Regions from separate parts of the Homo sapiens genome. Here all the other regions are linked to region 1. The links are contacts of gene promoters, found by promoter capture Hi-C in blood cells and fetal thymus (Javierre and others, 2016). All regions are on one chromosome and are shown on one strand. Each heading gives the region's core, a stretch centred on a gene start or on the middle of the fragment in contact. The rest is flanking DNA. Distances are from core to core; before and after follow the strand shown.

Evidence for each region. Contacts are between HindIII fragments. The CHiCAGO score rates a contact against its expected background, and 5 or more counts as called.
Region 2: a contact is called between a fragment that was not itself captured here and the fragment with the promoter of APOL6 in region 1, in 1 of 17 cell types (naive CD4 T cells). The highest score is 5.2, in naive CD4 T cells.
Region 3: a fragment that was not itself captured here is called in contact with the fragment with the promoter of APOL6 in region 1 in 5 of 17 cell types (M1 macrophages, M0 macrophages, M2 macrophages and 2 more); the score reaches 10.9 in M1 macrophages.
Region 4: a contact is called between a fragment that was not itself captured here and the fragment with the promoter of APOL6 in region 1, in 2 of 17 cell types (M0 macrophages and M1 macrophages). The highest score is 7.7, in M0 macrophages.
Region 5: a contact is called between a fragment that was not itself captured here and the fragment with the promoter of APOL6 in region 1, in 4 of 17 cell types (M2 macrophages, M1 macrophages, M0 macrophages and 1 more). The highest score is 6.9, in M2 macrophages.
Region 6: a fragment that was not itself captured here is called in contact with the fragment with the promoter of APOL6 in region 1 in 1 of 17 cell types (M1 macrophages); the score reaches 5.6 in M1 macrophages.

What each region holds. Positions count from the first base shown.
Region 1 is chr22:35,646,813-35,650,704 of GRCh38, forward strand. APOL6 (apolipoprotein L6) reads left to right here and starts at 1,634. Exons shown (of 3, transcript NM_030641.4): 1 at 1,634-1,811. RefSeq lists an enhancer at 1,339-1,638. The HindIII fragment of the contact is 8,876 bases long and covers 1-2,769 here.
Region 2 is chr22:35,402,930-35,406,821 of GRCh38, forward strand. MCM5 (minichromosome maintenance complex component 5) reads left to right here. Exons shown (of 17, transcript NM_006739.4): 3 at 278-404; 4 at 485-613; 5 at 3,624-3,796. Among named protein-coding and RNA genes, the nearest start is that of MCM5, 4.7 kb to the left of the region's middle. The HindIII fragment of the contact is 2,779 bases long and covers 821-3,599 here.
Region 3 is chr22:35,884,783-35,888,674 of GRCh38, forward strand. All of the region lies in intron 2 of RBFOX2 (RNA binding fox-1 homolog 2), which reads right to left. Among named protein-coding and RNA genes, the nearest start is that of RBFOX2, 140 kb to the right of the region's middle. The HindIII fragment of the contact is 1,512 bases long and covers 913-2,424 here.
Region 4 is chr22:35,423,957-35,427,848 of GRCh38, forward strand. MCM5 (minichromosome maintenance complex component 5) reads left to right here. Exons shown (of 17, transcript NM_006739.4): 17 at 198-1,475. The coding sequence ends at 299. Among named protein-coding and RNA genes, the nearest start is that of MCM5, 26 kb to the left of the region's middle. RefSeq lists enhancers at 1,886-2,391, 2,392-2,899, 2,900-3,405. The HindIII fragment of the contact is 1,521 bases long and covers 1,465-2,985 here.
Region 5 is chr22:35,846,244-35,850,135 of GRCh38, forward strand. The region is part of intron 2 of RBFOX2 (RNA binding fox-1 homolog 2); the gene reads right to left. Among named protein-coding and RNA genes, the nearest start is that of APOL5, 130 kb to the left of the region's middle. The HindIII fragment of the contact is 2,053 bases long and covers 1,227-3,279 here.
Region 6 is chr22:35,829,949-35,833,840 of GRCh38, forward strand. The region is part of intron 2 of RBFOX2 (RNA binding fox-1 homolog 2); the gene reads right to left. Among named protein-coding and RNA genes, the nearest start is that of APOL5, 110 kb to the left of the region's middle. The HindIII fragment of the contact is 6,874 bases long and covers 1-3,892 here.

The DNA of each region.
Region 1 (3,892 bases), core at 384-2,883:
CTGCCCCCATCCAATGGCCGGTCTGGCCCCTGAGACTCCCAGGACCGAGCAGTGACCACAACATCTGGGTCCGTTGCCAGGGAAAACAACAGGCAGGCCTGGGATGGCTCAGCGGCCCCAGCCAGGCAGCCAAGTCCTCCTCAAGGTCAGGCTGTGTTTAGCGTGTTCCCCAAGTGTGGGAGGCCAGGAGCAGGGGTGGGTTGTGGAATCCGGGATGCCACGGTTGGAAAGGCCCCTACAAGACCCAACTCAGCAGCCCTTAACCCCTCATTCCTGCTCGTAGGGCCCAGGGACAGGAGGTGGCCTCTATCACAGCAAAGCCAGGACTGGCTAGGTGGGCCGCACCTTCTGCAAAGCAACAGCCTCCAATGTGGTCTCAGCTAGGGGTGGTGACTGGGGACTTCTGGGCATATAAATACAAACAAACCACATGGCTTCTGATCACAATTTGACACAAATGCTAGAGAGACACAGATCTCAGCCCGTAACCTCACTGTGGGCTCATTCTTGTAGACACAGAGCCTAGGACTGGTTCTTAGCTGTGTAATCACAAACAACCCACAACTTCTAGAAGCCTGGGTTTCCTCTTCCTTAAAGTGGGAGACAGAGTATCACAATCCTATATCTCCAATCCTTGAGGCCAGATGCATGTCAGAGTTCCTGATTTGGGGGATTTTTAGAAAGGTAATGGGGTGCAGGTATCGTGTACTATGTAACCCACGCACCCGCAGCAGCCCTCCTCAGTCAAACATATTAATATTTCTGCAGTGACTGTAAATATTCAAATTAAGCAGGAGACATAAAAACCACAGGTGAATTCATGCCAGATCAGGTCAGGTTTTGCCACTAAATGAATAAATTATCATTTTTTTTTAAGTTTTCATTCTGAGGCCAGGTGCGGTGGCTCACGCCTGTAATCCCAGCACTTTGGGAGGCCTAGATGGATGGATCATTTGAGGTCAGCAGTTTGAGACCAGCCTGGCCAACATGGCAAAACCCCATCTCTACTAAAAATACAAAAATCAGCCGGGCGTGGTGGCAGGTGCCTGTAATCTCAGCTACTAGGGAGGCTGAGACAGGGGAATAGCTTGAACGTAGGAGGCGGAGGTTGCAGTGAGCCGAGATCGTGCCATTGCACTCCAGCCTGGGCAACAGAGCGAGACTTCATCTCAAAAAACAATAATAATAATAATAATAAAATAAAGTTTCCATTTTCAGAGGATTCTGCATTCAGAGTTATTAGCCCTTTAATGCTGTGCACCTCATAGGGTTGTTACCCACATCAGCGTCACGTAAGATGCTGTGGAGGAAAGCAGTTTCAGAACAATCAGTGATGACAGCTACTGTGAATCCACTATTCAACAGGCGCCCCATCGCTTGCTCATGGGCTCCTCACCATAGCTCTAAGCCACAGGAGCTATTTTCATACCCCATATAGGTCCATCCTATAACACAGCCAGGACAGAGACGAGAGACTCAGGCCTCCTGACTTGGATTCTGCTCTTTCACCTCCTTGTTCATCCAATTAGAGAAACTGGCAAAAAGGAAACTGAAAGTGACAGCTGGAGCCCATGATTTCCTGGAAGAGCCCTAGAGCTTTGCTTTTTCTCTCCTGCAGCACTTAACCGAAACCAGTTTTGCAATCAATTCCTGTTCAAAGGCCACCCTACTCTTCCTATCCGTCTTTCTCCAGCCCAGACACTCACAGCCCCCTGCCAGACCAGGGGACCTCGGAGAGGCAAGGACAGAGGTTCAGGATCTTCCTCTCCCTCGGGACCCAAGGCCACAAAGGAGAGCTCCGTGGAGAGAAGGTGAGACGGCGGGCAGAAGTCGGGGGAGGAGGGGGCTGCCGCTCTGGTCCCTGAAGGACAGAGCCCCCAAGGGGTTGGCTTTAGGCACCTGACTCAGGGAAAAGAGCTGCTGTGAAAGCAGCGGGGTTCAAATGCCAGCCAGAGCTTGAGGAGAGTCTGAGGATTAACTTCTCCTGTGTTAATCCTGGTAGGTTTCCCTCCCTTACAGCCATTTCAGGGTTAAATTGAAACATGCTAAAGCATGCGATGTGACTAGCCAAGTTGCATTTGTCCCTCCACTGCTGGGGATCCGAGGGCTTAGGCAGAGGGGACCTGGCCCTTAGAAAGCAGATGATTACATCAGCCACAGGCGTTTCCCTAGAAATTCAGTAGAGGAGTGGTTTAGGGGTGTCATCTCACAAGAAAAAAGGTGCTGGGTGAGTTGTCTAGAAACTGCAAAGCCAACCTACAGAGTTTTCTAGATTGTAGATTTATGTGAAGTTGTTTGGGGAAGAGGGTGAGGGAGTTTGTGATAAATATTAGGGCGACTAGGCCAGGCGCAGTGGCTCATGCCTGTAATCCCAGCATTTTGGGAGGCTAAGGCAAGCGGATTGCTTGAGCCCAAGAGTTTGAGACCAGCATGGGCAACATAGTGAGACCCCGTCTCTACAAAAAATCAAAAAATAGCTGGGCGTGATGGTGCACACCTGTAGTCCCAGCTACTTGGGAGGGTGCTGAGGTGGAAGGATCACTTGAACCCAGGAAGTCAAGAATGCAGTGAGCAGTGATCGCACCACTGCACTCCAGCCTGGGCAACAGAGTGAGACCCGGTCTCAAAAAAAAAAAAAAAAATCTAGGGAGGTTATCTTGAAGCTGTGTTTTCAAAGTAAGCAGATTTTTCTTACTTAGATTGTGTATCTGCAGAAGTTGGTTTTGTGGGGGAAGGCAGGTAAGGAAAGACTGTCATAAATATCCTGTAAGCTTTCAAATGAAAGTAAGTTCTCAAATCCTCTTCCAATAAACCTCTCACAAGCAAATCCTCTCGCAACCACCAAGAGCAGGTCAGAGGGGATGGAATGGGACCTGCTTAGATGAGTTTCCTGCTGTTACCTTTGCCCTGCATCCCATAGGACTAATGTAAAAAAATGAGAGAGGTATTGGCGGACGCTGGTAAAAAATGGGGTTCCAGACCAGAGTCTCTTACCCCCAGCAACCTTGTCATGTTCAACCAGGTGATCCCTGGTTGTGGGGGCTGTCCTCTGCATCGTAGGGTGCTTGGCAGCATCCCTGGCCTCTGCCCTCTACATACCAACAGCAGTACCCTCTCCAGCTGAGACCATCAAAAATGTTTCCAGATATTAGCAGTGTCCCTGAGGAGCAAACACGCCCTGTTTGGGACCAACTACTCCAGACTCTGCGTGGCTGGAATTGCACAGGCTTTCCTGCTTACTGTGTGACACTGGCCTCCCTATGTCTCAGTTTGCACCTCTGTAAAATGGGCATCATCTTAGCACCGATCTCACTGGGTCACTGTGTAAAGCAGGTAGATGTATGTCTGGTGAAAGTAAACTCTTAAAGGTGCCAAGCCCCCTAAACCAAACCTAGCTTCACATACCAAAGAGGGGAGAAGGTTTTTATCTTTGAAGCATTCATTCTTTTTCATAGACTACCCCAAAGAAATAACCAAACATGTAGACAGACGTCTATATAAGGATTTTAACCAAAAATTATAAATACAAAATTTTAAAATAACTGAAAACAACCCAAAGGTTCAACAGTGAGAGAGTTATTGAATGTGTAATGATACATTCGTAAAATGAAATGCGACATGGCTTCTATGTATCGCCTGGGGAACTACTAAGATACAATGTTAGGTGACAAGAATTCACACAAACTACATGAACAGCATGCATTTCCATATGGTGAGCGTAAGGTGGATTTTATAATTTATTTCTAAATTTTCAACCTTAAACTTGTATTCATGGCTATAAGTGAATGAATGAATGAATGGCTATAAATGAATGGCTATAAAAATTTGTGTCCTGGGCTGGGCATGGTGGCTCATGCCTGTAATCCCAGCACTTTGGGAGCCCGAGGTGGGT
Region 2 (3,892 bases), core at 960-3,459, 240 kb before region 1:
TTGTGCACGCTGGCCTGGGTGTTGAAACATCCTTTGACTGTCTTGTGGACCCCTTCCATGGAGCTTTCTTTAGGGCATGCCTGTGCCAGCAGTGAGTAGCCTCTGCAGGGTTAAATAATGGAATGATCTGGAATTAGATGTGTGTTTGGGAAGAGGAATGGTGAGGTCATGGTGGCTGTGGTGTGGGCAGATTCAGGGGTGCAGGCACACCTCAGCCAGTGTTGGTTTCCTCTTCTTTGCACCCTTCCTGCCCCACCCTGCTATGTGCCCACTCCAGGGATGAACTCAAGCGGCATTACAACCTGGGGGAGTACTGGATTGAGGTGGAGATGGAGGATCTGGCCAGCTTTGATGAGGACCTGGCCGACTACTTGTACAAGCAGCCAGCCGAGCACCTGCAGCTGGTGAGTGGGACCCCATCCCTGAGCTTCCCAGGGCTGCTCTGCCCCAGTTACTAATAGCCTGTGCCCTTCCCTTTCTCCAGCTGGAGGAAGCTGCCAAGGAGGTAGCTGATGAGGTGACCCGGCCCCGGCCTTCTGGGGAGGAGGTGCTCCAGGACATCCAGGTCATGCTCAAGTCGGACGCCAGCCCTTCCAGCATTCGTAGCCTGAAGGTGGGTCGGAGGGCAGTGGCTGCTGCATGGTGCAGAGGGCTTTGGATGCAGCCAGACCTGAGTGCTAGCTGTGTGGCCTTGAGTGAGGCACTTGACCTTTCTGAACCTGTCTCCTCCTGGAGACAAAAGGATCGTTTGTTGTTTTTTGCTTTTTGTTATGAAAAATTACACACCCAAAAGCAGAGAGTAGTATAATGAATCCCATAAAGCTTCACCCAGATTTAATAATTAACATTTTGTGTTGTTTCCTATTTTGTCCTTTTTCTTTTTTGCTAAAGAATTTTAAAGTAAATTCATGCACAGTGGCTCATGCCTCTAATCTTAGCACTTTGGGAGGCCGAGGGAGGAAGATTGCTTGATACCGGGAGTTTGAGACCCTGGCTCTCCAAAAAACAAAACAAAAAAAAAACAAAAAAAACAAAGCTAGGTATGCTGGCATATGCCTATAGTCCAGGCTACTTGGAAGGCTGAAGTGGGAGGATCAAGGGGCCTAGGAATTTGAGGTTACAGTGAGCTCTGATTGTGCCTCTCAGCACTTTAGCCTGGGTGACAGAGCAAGACCCTGTCTCTAAAAATAAAAAATAAATTACAGACATGACACTTTATCCCGAAAAAAAAAAGTTTTCTTACATAGTCTCATTAGCACCTCAACTGAAACATCAAAGATCTCTTAGTATCATTGAATATACAGTCTAGATTCAGATTGACCAAATTACCTCACATGACTCTTACAGCTCGTGTGTCTCAGCCAGGACCAGGCATTGTACTGGATTGTTGTTTAAATCTCTTTTAATCCAGGACAGCTTCCTTTACTCTGGGTGTAAGTTCTTTCACAGATACATTATTGATTTGCTAAAGAAGCAGGAGCCATTATCCTGTAGAATGTGCTGCCTTTTAGATTTATCTGAAGGCCTCCTTGGGGTGGTTACAACATACCCCTTCCCCCCCGTGATTTTTGGAAGCTGGAAGTTAGATGCAAAGGCCTGACTGTGTTTCGATTTCACATACCGGGCAAGAACGCTTATGGGTGGTATTGGATCCCTCATTGCATCCCTCCATCCACTATGCTGAGACTGACCAGGTGCTAGGTTGAGGTGGTGATGGTCACTTTATTGTAATGATGCAGGCATGGAGTCTTGAATTCCGCCTCCCCAGCCTCGCTTCTGCTTCCCACAGCCTCTTCCTGCTTTCTTTGAGAGCCCCAGCAAAACTTCTGCTCATGTCTGGTTCTCTCGTTCAGCCGGAGGAGGGCATTGAGAAACGGAGACAAGGTGGAGAGAGATTGTCCCAGTCCTGTACACTAGTGGCTCAGGAGCTTTGTGAAGGGCAAGGGCTGGCCATAGGAAGGAGTGGATCGGCTGAGAATTTATGTTTTACTTTTTATTATGGATAATTCAAACATTAGAATATAAAGAGAATCGTATAACGAATCCTCTTGTACTCATCACCCAGCTTAATAATTAGCAACTAGAGGCCAATTTTTTTTTTTTTTTTTTTTTGAGATGGAGTTTTTGCTCTTGTTGCCCAGGCTGGAGTGCAGTGGCACGATCTCAGCTCACTGCAACTTCCGCCTCATGGGTTCAAGTGATTCTCCTGCCTCAGCCCCCCAAGTGGTTGGAATTACAGGCACACACCACCACGCCCGGCTAATTTTTAGTAGAGATGGGGTTTCACCATGTTGGCCAGGCTGGTCTCGAACTCCTGACCTCAGGTGATCCATAGATGCCAAATCTTGTTTCATCTGTGGCCCTGGAGTTCTTTTGAAACAAGTCCCATACATCATATAATTTGATCTGGAACTATTTCTCCATGTATCTCTAAAAGATGAATCTCTTTTTTTTTGAGACGGAGTTTGACTCTGTCGCCCAGGATGGAGTGCAGTGGCATGATCTCAGCTCACTGTAACCCCTGCTTCCCCGGTTCAAGCAATTCTCCGGCCTCAGCCTCCCGAGTAGCTGGGATTACAGGCATATGCCATCACACCTGGCTAATTTTTGTATTTTTAGTAGAGACGGGGATTCACCATGTTGGCCAGGCTGGTCTCGAACTCCCGATCTCAAGTGATCCGTCCGCCTCGGCCTTCCAAAGTGTCGGTATTACAGGCGTGATCCACTGCACCCAGCCTTTGAAGAGTCATTTTTAAAGGCATAGCTACAATAACATCACACTTAAAAATTAACATTACGGCCGGGCGCGGTGGCTCATGCCTGTAATCCCAGCATTTTGGGAGGCCGAGGCCAGTGAATTGCCTGAGGTCAAGAGTTCGAGACCAGCCTGGCCAACATAGTGAAACCCCGTCTCTACTAAAAATACAAAAAGTTAGCTGGACATGGTGGCAGTTACCTGTAATCCCAGCTACTTGGGAGGCTGAGGCAGGAGAATCGCTTGAACCCGGGAGGCGGAGGTTGCAGTAAGCCGAGATCCTGCCATTGCACTCCAGCCTTGGCGACACAGCAAGACTCTGTCTCAAAAAAAAAAAAAGAAAAAAGAAAAAATATTACTGCCTTATTGTCCGGTGTGGGAATAGTCATTAAGATGGGGAAACTGAGGCTCAAAGAGAAGTGACCCAGACAGAAGACCACACAGCAGGTTTTGACAGAACTTGAACTAGAATGTGGGCCCCTGCCTCCCAGGTTTGTTCTGTGTTGTACTCTACAGGTCCAAGGATGTCGCCATCAGAGCTGGGGTCAGGTCTCTCTCCTGGCACCTGCCACTTTGTAGTGAAATGTGCTTAGTGTATCTCTTGCCCTGCCACCTCCCCCCCCAATTGTGCTGCGAGGTCTTTAAAAGCAGGAGCTGTGCCTGAGGCTCCTCTGAACCCCAGGGTCCAGATAGCCTGGCACTGGGTGGATGCTCTGGAAGCATTTTTTGAGCGGAACAGAAGAGCTGTGGCCCTCCCTGCAGCTCTGTGCCCACCTCCTCCAGGCTCCTGCCCAGGATATTTACTGGCATATCTCAGATGCGTCCTGGCTCCCCTTAACCAACAAGCTTCCCGATGGCTCTATTACAGTCGGACATGATGTCACACCTGGTGAAGATCCCTGGCATCATCATCGCGGCCTCTGCGGTCCGTGCCAAGGCCACCCGCATCTCTATCCAGTGCCGCAGCTGCCGCAACACCCTCACCAACATTGCCATGCGCCCTGGCCTCGAGGGCTATGCCCTGCCCAGGAAGTGCAACACGTGAGTCTGTGGCCCAGAGGGACTGTGGGAGGTGACCTGAGTGAAGATCAGAAAGGATGAGAACAAGTAGCAAGCACTGCCTGCAGCTGCTTCTAG
Region 3 (3,892 bases), core at 419-2,918, 240 kb after region 1:
CTTAGATGCTGCCTATCACAGACTAGCTGAATGTATTACAACATATTGGTTAAGAGTACTGACTCTGAAGCAAGACTGCGCATTTGAATCTTCCTTCCCCGTTGTAAGATGAAACAAGATAATAGTAATGAAAGCATCAGACCCAGTGCCTCCTATCATAGGAGGCACTTGGGAATTTGTTTTCTTATCTCTTCCAATCCCAACTGCCTTTAACAATCGAAAATTTCTCCAGTTTGAATATTATCTGCAAACATCCAATATTAGAGCAACTTGTTGAGCAACATGCAAAAATGGTTTTGATTTTCAATGAATCCAAGAAACTTATTTTTAATAACCTTAATTTAATAAAATTAAACACAAAAATAAAAATAAATATCTAAAATTACTTAAATATAGCAGAGGAGAACACAGACACAGCAACAACTGATCTTCCCAACACGTGCTCTGACCACCTACCCCTGCCCAGCCTTTGGCATCTACTGTACTGTTTAGTGAGACCTTCAGTCCCACCTTGCCAAAAAAACCATGATGTTTTTTACCTAACTGGCAATTTCAAGTACTGTACAAGAAGCAGAATAAATAAATCATTAAGAATATTTTATGTGAATGTCAATTTATCTAAGAAATAATACTTAACAATTCTACTGGGAAAAATCATGCCCATTTTACAGATGAGACACAAGAGCATAAAGATCATCTGTCTAATCATATGGCAGGCTAATGACTAGGCCAGGGACAGAAATGTAACTAGCGTATGATGAGAAACACAATGAAACCATAGTCAGTTTTCTGATTTTCATGGATACAAGAATCTTGCCAGTGATTAAAGTTCATCTCACACACTCAGGAAAAATAATTTGACAGTTATTTTAGGGAATGAAAGCTAGGTCGTTTCCCCGCATAAACAACATAAGCTTCTGACTCTTACCTCCCTCTTGATTTATTTAACCTCTGAATAGATGGTCTATATTTAAATAAGCAAGTAAAACACCGTACAAGTTAATACACAATGAAGACAGTACAGAGCCTATAGATTTGGGTTAAGTGAAACCCAAACCTAATTTTTTTTTTTTTTTTTTTTTTTTTTTTTTTGAGACAGAGTCTCACTCTGTTGCCCAGGCTGGAGTGCAGTGGCACGATCTGGGCTCACTGCAACCTCCACCTCCCGGGTCCACGCCATTCTCCTGCCTCAGCCTCCTGAGTAGCTGGAACTACAGGCACCCACCACCACATCCGGCTAATTTTTTGTATTTTTAGTAGAGACGGGGTTTCACCATGTTAGCCAGGATGGTCTCGATCTCCTGACCTCGTGATCCGCCCACCTCAGCCTCCCAAAGTGCTGGGATTACAGGCGTGAGCCACCGCGCCCGGCCCAAACACAATATTTTAGTTGAACACTTTGCTACCCAGACAGTTCATTATACCTAGAATATCCAATTAACTTTTCAACCAATATCTGTGGAATGTCTATTCTATGCTGGCCTTCAATTACAAGTAACATATGTTCTCTTATTTAATAATAGTGAAAGATGCTAAAAAAAAATGTGTGAAGAGGAGCACCAAGTTCTCACATTCAGAAAAACCTATTAATTCTAAACAGGAATGTAATGCTTTCAACTGGATTACAACTTTTAAAAGCAATATAGTCATGTGCTGCTTAATGCCAGGCACACATCCTGTGAAATGTGTTGTTAGGTGATTTCATAGTTGTGAGATCATCATAGAGTGTACTTACATAAACTCAGATGGCCTAGCCTACTACACACCTCGGCTATACGGTATGTACGACCTATTGCTCTTAGGCTACAAACATGTACAGCAGGTGACTACTGAATACTCTACTGTGGGTAATCGTAACACAATGGTATTTATGTACCTAAACACAGAGAAGGGACAGTAAAGATACAATTGTTATTTATACACTCTTATGAAACCACCGTAAGATTGAACTGCATTGACTGATGCCTTCAACTGCATTGACTGATGCATTGAACTGCACTGATGAATGATGCAGTTCATAGCTACCTGAAACGTCTTTATGTGGTACACGACTGTACAGTTTTCCAGAACCAAGAAGGAGAAAGGGGAGTTAGTGAAGTAAGACTACAACTCCTAAAATATATTTTTGTCGTTGTTGGGAAAAGGACCAGAGGAAATATATCTTGGGTGTTTAATCCTCCACCCTCCCTCTCCGTCTTGTCAATATGTGTGCTTTGACCACGCTGATTTTCTGCTCCTCCAAACGAACAATTTAAAATCTACTAAGTATTTACTTACTTGGTTCCAAATTTAGTCCTTAATTTATATATTTTACAACAACAAAATTCCATATTCTGATTTGAAACATGACCAGAAAGAGATAGTTGTTTAACATTAAATGTCATATTAAAACAAATAGTAAAGGCGGCTTTCCTAAATAACTGAAGCTTGCCATATTTTAGCATTCATGCGTAAGCCTTTCCTATCTACTTAAAATCTTTATTCTCATTGTCAAACCCTGACCTCAAGGCCCTTTTACCTCATACCTGAACAACTACAATGGTAACTGTTCTCTATGCCTTTTCTGATCCCATCTCCTGCACTTCCTTGCCCTCCCACGCCCTGGAGGTCATGGGCTATTCTCAGCAAACTCCTCTACACACTCACCTCTCTTCTGTGATATTCTCTTTACTCTTTTGATCTTAAGGAAACCAGACTGCCCCTGAGATTACTGTTGCTTCTACAGTAAACACTTTTTTCTTACTCATCACATACCTCAGCAGGGGCAAGCATCGGCCTTACTCCCCATTACCATATAGTGTTGGACCTTCCAGATATCCTCTTCCTTCCTTCCCAATACTGCTTCCAAACCACTTCTCTTCCCTCCAGGCAAACTGCACCTGTCCCCTGCTAAATAGGGCTCCCTGATTTCATCTCCATTGTTAGTCTTATCACTCTGATAACTTCAACAGCCACATAGATTCAACATTTTGGCCTTCTTTTTGAAGTCTTTAGCACCAACTGTATTTTTCCACCACCTCACCTAAAGCCATTCACCTAGCATCATATTCTAATACAATCATTACCTACAAAAATTTCAAGTATTCTATTATCACACCATCAAGCGTTTGCTTACAATAGTAGTTTGACCCCTGTGGCAATTCTCCAGCCTCCTTAAGATCTATAGTTTACAGGCTGATGTACCACTTTTTCACTATTACTCCTTCTTATGTTCTACCTCCCTCCTAAGCCAGTTTAGATCCTATGGCCTCATACTACACAGAGTCCTCTCCAAAAAATCTTAATTTCCTTGTCCTCTTTTCCCTTAGTCTAACTCATTTGGCAGCTCCAACTATGTACTTATTCCTCTCCTGCATTTAAATAACAGAAGATTGCTGGATAAAACTCACACAACTGACTCGCCACCACATACATCAAATTTATGATCACAAATCTTAGGCCTACTTCATCTCTGTAGTAAATTTACTCCCCATTTTTTTGAGATTACTATTTTATACCTTGCTTCACTCCTCAAATCTGCAATATAGTAGTCATGTATCACTTAACAACAGGAATGTGTTCTGAGAAATGCATCACTGAGCAATCTGATTGTGTGAGAACATCAAGGTTCCGTGTGCTTACACCAACCTAGATGGTCTAGTCTACTACATACCTAGGCTATACAATACAGCCCATTGCTCTAGGCTATTGTCTTAGTCCATTTAATGTTGCTATAAAGGAATACCTGAGGCTGTGTAATTGATAAAGAAAAGAGGTTTATTTGGCTCACAGTTCTGCAGGTTGTGCAAGAAGTGTGGCACTGGCACCTGCATCTGGTGAGGGTCTCTGGCTGCTTCCTTCCACTCATGGCAGAAAGGGAAGAGGGGTTGAAGTCAGCAATGACCTCCATATT
Region 4 (3,892 bases), core at 975-3,474, 220 kb before region 1:
TAATTGCTGTGACCTTGAGCAAGTGGCTTAGCCTCCGTGTGCCTCAGTGTCTGGTACACAGTGGGCACTCAGGAAGTGTGGGCCCTTTAGGTCAAAGGAGCCTGAGTACAAAGTTCCCCGTGAGCCTGGGGATGTCTGGGCTCTGTCGGAGTCCCCTCGGGCAGCACGTGCCGTTAGCCAGCCATGTGCTCCCACAGAAATACCCGGAGCACGCCATCCACAAGGTGCTGCAGCTCATGCTGCGGCGCGGCGAGATCCAGCATCGCATGCAGCGCAAGGTTCTCTACCGCCTCAAGTGAGTCGCGCCGCCTCACTGGACTCATGGACTCGCCCACGCCTCGCCCCTCCTGCCGCTGCCTGCCATTGACAATGTTGCTGGGACCTCTGCCTCCCCACTGCAGCCCTCGAACTTCCCAGGCACCCTCCTTTCTGCCCCAGAGGAAGGAGCTGTAGTGTCCTGCTGCCTCTGGGCGCCCGCCTCTAGCGCGGTTCTGGGAAGTGTGCTTTTGGCATCCGTTAATAATAAAGCCACGGTGTGTTCAGGTATCTGTGGGTTTGTGCACTCGGTGACCTGTCACCTCCATCGTGCCCTCATGGCAGGGTAAGTGTGAGGGAACAGGGTCTGGAGGCAGACTGGCCAGGGTTTCTGACTTGGATCTGCCACTCAGACTTCTGGGTAAGTCACGTGACTTGAGTGCTCCGGTTTCTTCATCTGTTTAGCGGGGCTCATAAAGCCACTCCCTTGATGCTGGGAATCCAGTGAGACCAGGGAGTGGGGAAGCGCTTCTCAAAGTGTGTGATTTTGATCCGCCTCACCTGTTCCCCAGTAACTTATTGGGGGGCTGCGAGCCGTGGTGCGGCGGTCAGACTGCCTGGATTCATGGACCCTCTCCATGCCTTAGTTTCCTTATCTGTAAGCAGGCTGATACTAGAACCTGCTTCACAGGGTTGTGCTTAGGGTCAGTGAGCAGCTGTTAGTGAGGGGAATGTAGTGGCCACCAGGCAGGAACTAGGACTCCAGCCAGTTCTTTCCTGGTGGGCCACGTGTAACTGTGTGGCCTTGGGCGAGACATTTCACTTTTCTGTGCCTGAGTTTATCAGTAAACTGGAGATGGGGGGATTCCTCACCCTGAGTTGTGAGGATTGAATGACAGAAGGCACTAGTGACAGTGATGCTGGAGGAAGGAGTGTTGCCAAGTGCCTCGGTCACTTTGCCTAATTTCAGAAAGTCACTCTGAGTTGGTATGTTTTGTGTTTTTAAAAAAGCTAGGATTCATAAAATTAAATAGAAATCAGTGAAATAAAATATTTGATATTTAAAATACATTTAGAAATACAAAGTGTCAAGCAAAACGTGAATTTGGAAATCTATGGAACATTAGATAAGGTATTTAAAAGTAATTGCCATGTAAAAATGACACGAACTTGAAGTAAGATTATTTGATTTTTCTAAAAATACAAGAAAGCTTGGTGCATCCGCCTGGTCATTGTTGAATCACAAATGTATTTTTGTGCAGAAGATTCCTGCAGCTCAAAGCCCTTTCTGATTCCATACTGTTCGGGGAAATGGAGAGATGAGAGGAGCTAAATCAGCTTTCCTCTGACTCACTCCCGTTCAAAGCTCATTTCTTTTCTGATAATTTTGAGAGTGTCTGGAACAGCTTTTGTTTTCTTGGTGGGGTGGCAACCTTACTGGGCGCGCTGTGGGTTTTGCATCCAAGGCTGCATCTCCGGTTCCTGCTAGCCTTTCATCTTGCTCAGGTGGGGACTCGCGTGCATCTCAGGCCCAAGGTCCTCCCGTCCTGCTTGTTCATGGAGTGTGGAACTCTCATGAGGTTCACCCTGCAGTGGCAACTTTGCTGGTGGCCTTTTCTCCACCCCTGTGGTGGGTGGTGCTGCTGTGGTCACCTCTGTTTTACAGGTGGAGAAACTGAGGCTCAGAGAGTCAAGTGTCACAGTGAGGGAGTGCAGGGCAGGCTTCAAACCTGGTGGCTCCGAACTCCACCCATGTCACCTTTTCTGCCAGATTCTCTCTTGGCAGTCCCTGACCTCGGCCTGAGTGGGATGCTGGGCAGAGACAGTCCTGGCCTGGGGGAGGCAGGTGCCAGTCAGGTGGGGGAGACTGACCCTGGGGTAGGTTCCCAGGGGTAGGTGGCCTGACTGGCAGGCACAGGACTGAGAGGCCAAAGGGGGTCCGACTGGCTTTTCCGTGGTAGTTGGGGTAGGGCTCATAGGAGGAGCAGCTGTGCTCAGAGCATGCCAGTCTCCTTCCAGATCGGGGCAGCAGCATGAAGAGAGGCCCCTGAGCCAGGGAAACACCTGCTTGTTGGGGAAAGCAAAGGCTGAGGAGAGAGCCTGAAGGGAGGCCAGGAGAGGGGAGCATTCAGGCTGAGTAATAGTTGGGGCTCGGCTTAGTGGAATCTCCAGTCAGGCCTCAGTGACACCTAGAGAGGCAGGGAGGTGGGGCAAGGGGGGGAGCTGGATTCCCGAGCTGGTGCTGCCACTCAGGGTGGCTGAGCTCTTCACTCACCTGTGACCTGGCTCCCTTAGGCTTGTCTTCTCAGATCTGTCCCTACCCTCACCAGCTACAGGCCGCGACCCAGCGGACATTTCTCTCTGCTGAGCAAATCACTTCACCCCTCAGCCTCCTTTCATCTGTAGAAAGGGCACAGCAGTACAGTAGCCCTTTCACCCAGGGGTGGCTGTGAGGATTAACTGAGGGGGTAGACATCAGAGCAGCTGGGCCTGGCCCCGGGGAGGTGCTCCCAGGAAGGGCTGGGTGCCTGTGGTTTTCCCTGCCTCACAGCCTCTGCCATCTCGGATTTCACCTTTTCATGCTTTTGTGTGAGCAGAGGCCGAGCCTCTGCTGCTGTGTTCCCTGCCCCACTCTACTCCTGGCTGCATGGGTCTCTCAACTTCGCTCACCACTATGAGAGCCGCTCCACCCCTTCTCCAGTTCCAGGTCTGGGAAGGAGAGAGCAGACAAGCTTGCTCATGATGGAGTCCTTTTACCTGGTTTCTCTCTCTGTTCACAGATACCACCTCTGTTGATCTGGGAACTAAGACCATGTTGCTTGTCCTTAGTCACATATGACTTAATTTGCACCCATTGTGGGCCACTGGTGTCAGACAGGAAGCCTAAGCGCAGGTATCACTGAGGAGGATACACATGCTAACTACACGATCTTCACCAGACCTGTGAGCTTCCAGCCACCAGATCCAAAGTCACAGAGCACAGGGACTTACAAACCCAGTGCTGGAAAACATAGCAAAGGCTATATCCAATTTAGGTTTCTCTTTATTGGAAATAAAGATGGCCCATACTTCAAATATGTTATTTAGAGAATGCTTATAAAGAGCAGCCTAAAGTCCCATTCTCTTGCCTGTAAGCAACAAAATTACAAAAATGTTGAATTTCTAAAATGCGAAAGTTAAGCATTCCAGAGACCAGCTCATGGAAGAAGGTTTTATGTTTTTGGGTGTTGTAACTATTATCCATATGTATTTAAACATGAATACGTCTGTTTGGTATTTAACACATTTTTTTTTTTTTTGGCTTTCAAGGCCTTTATTTTTTTATTTTTATTTTTTTCCCTTTTTTAATTTATTATACTTGTTTTTGGGGTACATGTGCAGAACGTAAAGTTTTGTTACATGGGTATACACATGCCATGGTGGTTTGCTGCACCCATCAACCCGTCATCTACATTAGGTATTTCTTCTAATGTTATCCCTCCCTAGCCCCCCACCCCCCACAAATGTTTAATTAGGAGTGTCAAGTCTGGATGAACCAAGGTAGATATTTATTTTAAGACATTATGGTGAGGCCAAAGAGTACATTAAAATGGTTTTAATTTGTTTTTATAGATCAAAAACAAGCATTTTTTATTAA
Region 5 (3,892 bases), core at 1,003-3,502, 200 kb after region 1:
TAACTATGTAAGTATAAACTATATAAGTTAATATAATTACACAAACTATATAAGTATAAACTATATAAGTAAATAAATTTATATAGTTGTGTGTGTGTGTGTGTGTGTGTGTGTGTGTGTGTGTGTACTGCTTAACACCAAGGTCAACTTCCCATGAAGAAATGGAGAGCCTAATATACTCTACAGCATTTTGAGGACCTGAGCATACCTCAATATCAAAAGTGTCCTTTAGGCTGGGCATAGTGGCTCACGCCTGTAATTTGGGAGGCCGAGGAGGTGGATCACCCGAGGATGGGAGTTCAAGACCAGCCTGACCAACATGGTGAAACCCTGTCTCTATTAAAAATACAAAAAAAAAAAAATTAGCTGGGTGTGGTGATGCCCACCTGTAATCCCAGCTACTTGGGAGGCTGAGGCAGGAGAACTGCTTGAACCCGGGAGGCAGACGTTGCAGTGAGCCGAGATAACACCACTGCACTCCAGCCTGGGTGACAAGAAAGAAACTCTGTTTCAAAAGAAAAAGTGTCCTTTAGATAGGTAAATTTCTGTCTCTCAATTTTCTAGATGCCTAATATCCTTAAGCTGTCCTTGGCTACCCTAAACCCTCAAATCAGGAAATTTAGCTATACCTCCAATAATTTAAGACCCTGTTTCCTCTTCCTCCAACTGCCCCATTCACCACTTGGATGACAGGTTAAGTAAAAGTGCCTAAGGAAAACCTGTGATAAAAGACAATACCCTTAACTTGCAACAAGTTACATTTTAACCATCTGATCAGAGGCAGTAAATGTTTAATCTGAAAGACTGTCTATAAGAATAACTTCAGGAACAGTTTCTTAAATAGATTTGTCTGGGCAGGGAGACTACATTCATTGTCCCTTAAATCACAAGCAAGCCTGTATCTCCTTACTCTGCCTGATTTTAAACTAATTTGGCCAGACTAGGTTCTACGAAAATTATAACTAATAAAATAATCATTTTCAATGGCACACTCTTAAAATAGGCATGATTTAGCAATGAAAGGTCAAGTACCTAAAATATTTTCGAACTTTCTGTTGAAGAGAACTCACTTTGTTTCATTAACTCAAAACTAGCAATTCTAGAAATAACTTAATTAAAAATAGATGTAAAACCTTTCATTAAAAGAAATACTGTTCAATCATGTCCTCCATAACGTCCAACTGTATAATGCATTAGTATGAAACTGCAAGCATTATGCAATGGAAAGCTTGGATTTAACTAAGCAAAAGAATATATAAAAGAAGCTAAAAACATTTTATAACTGTAGTTAAGAGTTTGGGTAGTAACCAACCATCTACTACTCATTTATAAATGCACTGAAAAAAACTGTTACTTTAAAAAAGTAATAAATAAGATTGTAAAATAGCTTGGGATCCTTCAATTTAAAATTGTTTTTTTTTAATCCCATTAGCTTTCCTATGTGGCAGAATGGAGAGTAAACCCTTAAATTTTAATATCCCATTACCTCCATTTCTAAACGACGTTAATTTCAGATAGAATAAACCTACAAATGGAGTAAAGCCAGGAAAGTGTAGTTTCAAATACTGTGCACTACATTTATCAGTACTAAATACTAATAACCAAAAAAATTGGGGGTGGAAAATTCATCTTATTATGAATATTGATTAGAATTTTGCTGCAAAAGACTTTCATCAAACCATGTCATAATTTCTGAACAGGAACTCTTTAATCCACCCCAAAATTGGGAGGGGGAGATGGTCAATTTCCTTCCTCAAAAAATTCAATTACATACTGTAATTATTTTTTCATATATGTCTAATACTTCAATTCACTTGGGAAACATTTTTACTTTTTCAACTTTTTCCTCAAAGAATTTTACTTATGTTATAGTTACTATAATTCCCATACTTTGCTGGTTGTGGGTCAGAAATTTACTGTTCACAGATGTTTCTCATTGAAAGCACATTAATATTTACTTGTAAAAAGACCTGGTTCTAATCTAGTCTCATAACACTTCCAGCCTTAAGCTGTTACAAAGCCCAAGCTATTGTTTTATGTCAGTAGAGATACAGTTCATAGATAAGTGAAATCCACAAATATATCAAAACCTCATTATCGTAAATATAAAATACTCTTAATTTGAATAATCCAAAATAACAGAAACAGTTATATCATTAATATAAAACATATAATATAGACCTCTATTAGAATATAGTTAAAGAGAAACATAATCACAGCCACTGCCATATGATTGCAATATTGATAGCTTTAGACTTGAATGAAAGCTGTAAGTTTACTCCAGAGAGCTTACCCAACAGGCCCAATCCAAAATAGCTTGGGCCTTTAGGCCCAAAATACCTAATAAGATGTACTAGTTAGTCCATTATTTCTTTTAACTCTATGCATTCCGGTCCAACCTGCAACATAGGTGCTAATTATTAGAGAAATGGCTATTTGAAAGAAAAAAATAATTAAAGGAACATGAAAACAAACTAAAACAAACTGACAGACCAAGTAGTATCTTTAATTCAGAATTAATTGTATTAACTGTATTTATTTTCTTATTCTAGGTTTCCATCACAATATTTCAAAAAATCATGATAGCTCAGAGGTCATCTGGCCCAACTCCTTCATTTTATATACAACAAAACTAAAGTCAAGAAAAATTGAAGTTATTTGAGCATGAACATGGTGGTGGTTAACTCTATTGCTGGAACCAGAATCCAGGACTCCTAACTTCAATTTTTCTTACTATAAGATATTCAGAAATATGCTTGGCAATGACCTAACATTTTCTGATTCTAAATTTCAACAAGTTAACAAATAAGATGTTACTAATGTCATCACAAAATAGTCTAAAACGTTAGACTAAAAATAGTCTTAGTGGGGAAAGATGCCCTCTACTTTATATATTACCTTTCTGGAAAATACAACATTTGGAAACTGCCAACTGTGCCTCTCATCTGCTCAAAACAAAGCCTAAAGTTTATCATAATATGATGGGTTTTTTACATTACATTTATATTGTCCAGCCCACCTGGTTCAAAACACACACACACACATACACACACAAACACACACACACACACACACACACACACACACACAGACACACAGAATCTCTCCAAAGTTTCAGAACTTCTAGGGGTGAATGCCAACCACCTTTGTCTGGCCGCCAATACTATAAATTAAATCCTCTTATTACAGTAAATTAGCAAAAAGCACTGGGAAAGCTAGGCTCTGAATGGTACCGGGTCAAAAGACAGAAAGCCTTGTAGGCATTTCATTCCACCATAAAGCTTCACATAAATCAAACAGTATCTAGAAATTATAACCCTTAGCTTACCTGGACAACAGGATATTGATAATCCATACAATATACACCATACATAGCAAAAGGGAAAAAATCTTCAGATAAGGACAGTACAAAAAGTGTCTAAGTTTTTGCCTTGTTTGCGCTGGCTGTCCTGTCCAAAGGAACTAGGTAGCACCAAAAAAATCCTTCGCTGACCTCCAGTCTACGCAGATAGGTATGCTGGCTCAGCTGATGAAGTCGGAGCTTGGTTGAGACCAGGCCTCCACCCCAACAGGATTTGACAATACACAGAAGAGATGTTCAGAAAAAAGCAAAAAGCTTTGAGTTACTAGTTACAGACTGAAAACTACACTGGAGATTTGCTGTTACTGTTGGTTTTTAAATTGACAACTCAACCAGAAACTCAAGAGGCAGAGAATGACAGCCAGGGAAGGGAACACAGGCTCCTCACACTGGCACACAAACACGGTAGGAAGTCTAAGGTATCCAGGAGCCAAAATAATATATATGTTCCAGGCTTTAAGTGCGTCAGAGAATACTCCCAATCCAGGACACAGAAAGGCAGATGGGACTGGTATTACTACTCTATTCTTT
Region 6 (3,892 bases), core at 988-3,487, 180 kb after region 1:
ACAATACAAGAGTTTCCTGTGTCCCTCAAATAGTTGTTTATTCCAAAATCCTCCCAATCTTCTAGCCATGTAAAGCATCTATTTCCCAAACTACATGTGTGCTAAGTATTAACTGATTTAAGTAATAAGCATTAGGTTACAAGTGACTACCCAATTTAACTCTCCCATTCAACATTTCAAAAGAGGACACTATCAATGAATTAGCAAGTTAAAAATCATTAATTAACTCAAAAGAAATATTTGCTGGATGCTGACACTGGTGATATAGTCCCAATCCTGAAAGAAACTATAGTCTGATGGAAAAACACAGAAATATACTCACAATTATAGTACCATATAAGCTAAACGAACAATGCATACAGAATGTTAATGAAGCACAGAGGGACAACTGTGTGAGACAGGAAGATTTCTGAAGTAGGTGAAGTCTAAGCTGAACCTTTAAAGACAAATTAATCATGTGGGAGAAAAATGCATCTGGCCCAAAGTAATAAATAATAGTCATGTATCACTTGATGACAGGGATATGTTCTGAGAAACGTGTCCTTAAGCAAGTGTCTTTGTGTGAACATCACACAGTGTACTTACACAAATTTAGATGGTATTGCCTACTACACACCTAGACTATATGGCATCGCCTATTGCTCCTAGGCTACAAACTTGTACAGCATGTGACTATACTGAATACTGTAGGCAAGCATAACACAAACCTAAGTATTTGTGTGTCTAAATATAGAAAAGGGACAGTAAAAATACAGTATTATAATCTTATGGAACCACTATTGTGTATGCAGTCTGTCGTTGACCCAAATGTTGTTATACAGTATATAACTACATGAAAAATGTTTTTAAAAAAATATGAAAATGTATATGAAAAGCAATAAGGTATAAAATACAGCATATGGAGGGAGAAAGGAAGTAAAGAAGGAGAAGAATCTTCATATTTTCTGGGGCTGGGGAAATAAGAGAGCAAATCAGGGGATTCATTCTATTATAAAAGGGATCCATCATGACCTGCTAGAACCACTCAAAACTGTCTCTCTGTCATGAAGCTATATGGGAAAACCTTACGTATGCTATAAAGGAAATTGCGAGGTCCTGTATCCCTCTGAGTCAGGGATCAGCAAACTATAGCTTGTGGTTCAAAGCCAGCCCTCCACCTACTTTTGCATAACCTGCAAGCTAAGCATGGTTTTACGTTTTTAAATAGTTAAGAGGCCAGGCACGGTGGCTTACGCCTGTAATCCCAGCACTTTGGGAGGCCGAGGTGGGCAGATCACAAGGTCAGGAGATCGAGACCATCCTGGCTAACATGGTGAAATCCTGTCTCTACTAAAATTACAAAAAATTAGCCAGGCATGGTGGCAGGCACCTGCCCTTGGGAGGCTGAGGCAGGAGAATGGCGTGAACCCAGGAGGCAGAGCTGGCAGTGATCCGAGATCGCACCACTGCACTCCAGCCTGGGTGATAGTGAGAGACTCTGTCTCAAAAAAAAAATAATAATAAATTAAAAATAAAGTTAAAAGAATCATATTTTGTGACACATACATATTACATGGAACTTAAATTTCAGTGTCCGTAAATAGTTTTACTGGAACACAGCTACAACCAACGATTCATTTACTTATCATCTATAGCTTCTTCAATGCTTCATCAGCACAGCCGGGTAGTTGTGACAGAAACAACATGGCTTGCAAAGCCAAAATTGTTTACTATCTGGCCCTTTACAGAAAAAGTTCGTGGATCTTTGCTCTCAGTTAAGAGTCTTTTCAAAACCCAATCTCCTTCACTTAAGTCCCAGTTTGTCTCTTCCAAACTTCTTATGAGGAATCATAATTAACATTAGGAAAAAAGAATACAGTTGTATCATTTGTGGACATAAAAGCATTCATTTATAATTTCATAAAATAATTATTGACTTCCATTACTCAGTGACAGTAACCTTTGAGGGATCAGGGCAAGACTCAGATACTAAAAGACAGGTAGATTCCTGCCAATCAGCTGAGGGCATGCTTTATAGTGGAGAGAAAAACAATATTCTATTTATTCTTTTTAGGAGTTCAAGGTAATATCCCTTCATTTTTGAAATTATAAATTGCCAACAACACTACATGTTCAATGAGCTATACAAACTGACTAAAGCCAGTTGTATGCGATGGCTCACGCCAGTAATCCCAGCACTTTGGGAGGTCGAGGCAGGTGTATCACCTGAGGTCAGGAGTTCAAGACCAGTCTGGCCAACATGGTGAAACCCTGTCTCTACCAAAAAGTACAAAAATTAACTGGGCATGGTGACGCACACCTGTAGTCCCAGCTACTTGGGAGGCTGAGGCAGGATAATCACTTGAACCCAGGAGGCGGAGGTTGCAGTGAGCCGAGATCACACCACTACATTCCAACCTGGGCGAAAGAGTGAGACCCTGTCTCAAAAACAACAAAAAAGAAACTGACTAAAGCCAAACATGTTATCATAAAACAAAACTTATAACAAAGATATGATACTTAATACTCATAACTGTAGAATGTTTAGCAAATGCTGGGAAGGAGGCAGGGGATGGAGAGAGGTTGGTTACTGGGTACAAAAACACAGAAGAAATAAGTTCTTGGCCAGGTGCAGTGGCTCGCACCTGTAATCCAAGCACTCTGGGATGCAGAGGCAGGCAGATCACTTGAGGTCAGAATTTCGAGAGCAGCCTGGCCAACATGGTGAAACCCTGTCTCTACTAAAATTACAAAATTAGCCAGGTGTGGTGGCATGCACCCGTAGTCCTACCTACTTGGGAGGCTGAGGCAGGAGAATCACTTGAACCCAGGAGGCGCAGATTGCAGTGAGCCAAGATCTGAGCCAAGACTGCACCACTGTACTCCAGCCTGGGCAACATAGTGAGATTCAGTCTCCAAAACAAAGAAGAAGAAGAAGTTCTAATATTCAACAGCACAGTGACTATAGTTAACAATAATTTATTGTGTATTTCAAAATAGCTAGAAGGGGAGATTTGAAATGTTCTCTATACAAAGAAATGATAAATATTTGAGGTCATGGGTATCCTAATTACTGATTTGATCATTACACATTATACGCATGTATCAAAATATCATATGTACCCCATAAATATGTATAATTATGCATCAATAAAACTTAAAAAGTAATCATAATTGATATTTTTACTTAGTGATTAGACATAAATGACAAATCATTCATATAAATTAATGCAACTAGTCCAGGACAGTCAGTAAACATTCTGGAAACCGTATGTTTTCATATCTATGAGGAGTAATTCAAGGAAGTAGGAAAAATAAGCAAGGCAACAGAAGATTAAAGGGAACGTTCAGCAGTATCTTCAAATATTTGGTTTTTATGTAGAAGACATGAAACCACTCAATGCAACTCCAGATGAGAAAATGAGAAGGAGTGAGAAGACAATCATGAAAACAGATTTCAGCTCATAAAGAAAACTTTTCTACTTATCATGGCCAACAATGGAACTATTTATCTTATGAGGTTCACAGAATAATGGAAGAGCATGCGAATTTGGGACTAAATAGATCTCCAGTTTGAAACCTATCTCTCTCTGTTTCCAGGCTGCCTGATCTTTAGAATCTCAAAGTCTCCTGCAAAAAATGGGAAAAACCTCACCTATCTCAAAGATGATTGACAAGTGATACATAATATGAATAATTATGTTTGTAAATGTGCTATGTATGTAAAATTGACTGGCACAAAGTAGGTATAAAAAAACAAAAACATTTTTATAATGGTCATTATTAGTGGTGGTTAAGAACAGAAATGCTGGAGCCAAACTCCTTGGGTTTCCTAATTTCTACAACATGGACATTAATAGTACTGCTGAGTAAGTATATAAGGCTGCTGAGTGGAATAAATGCTCTAAAATAT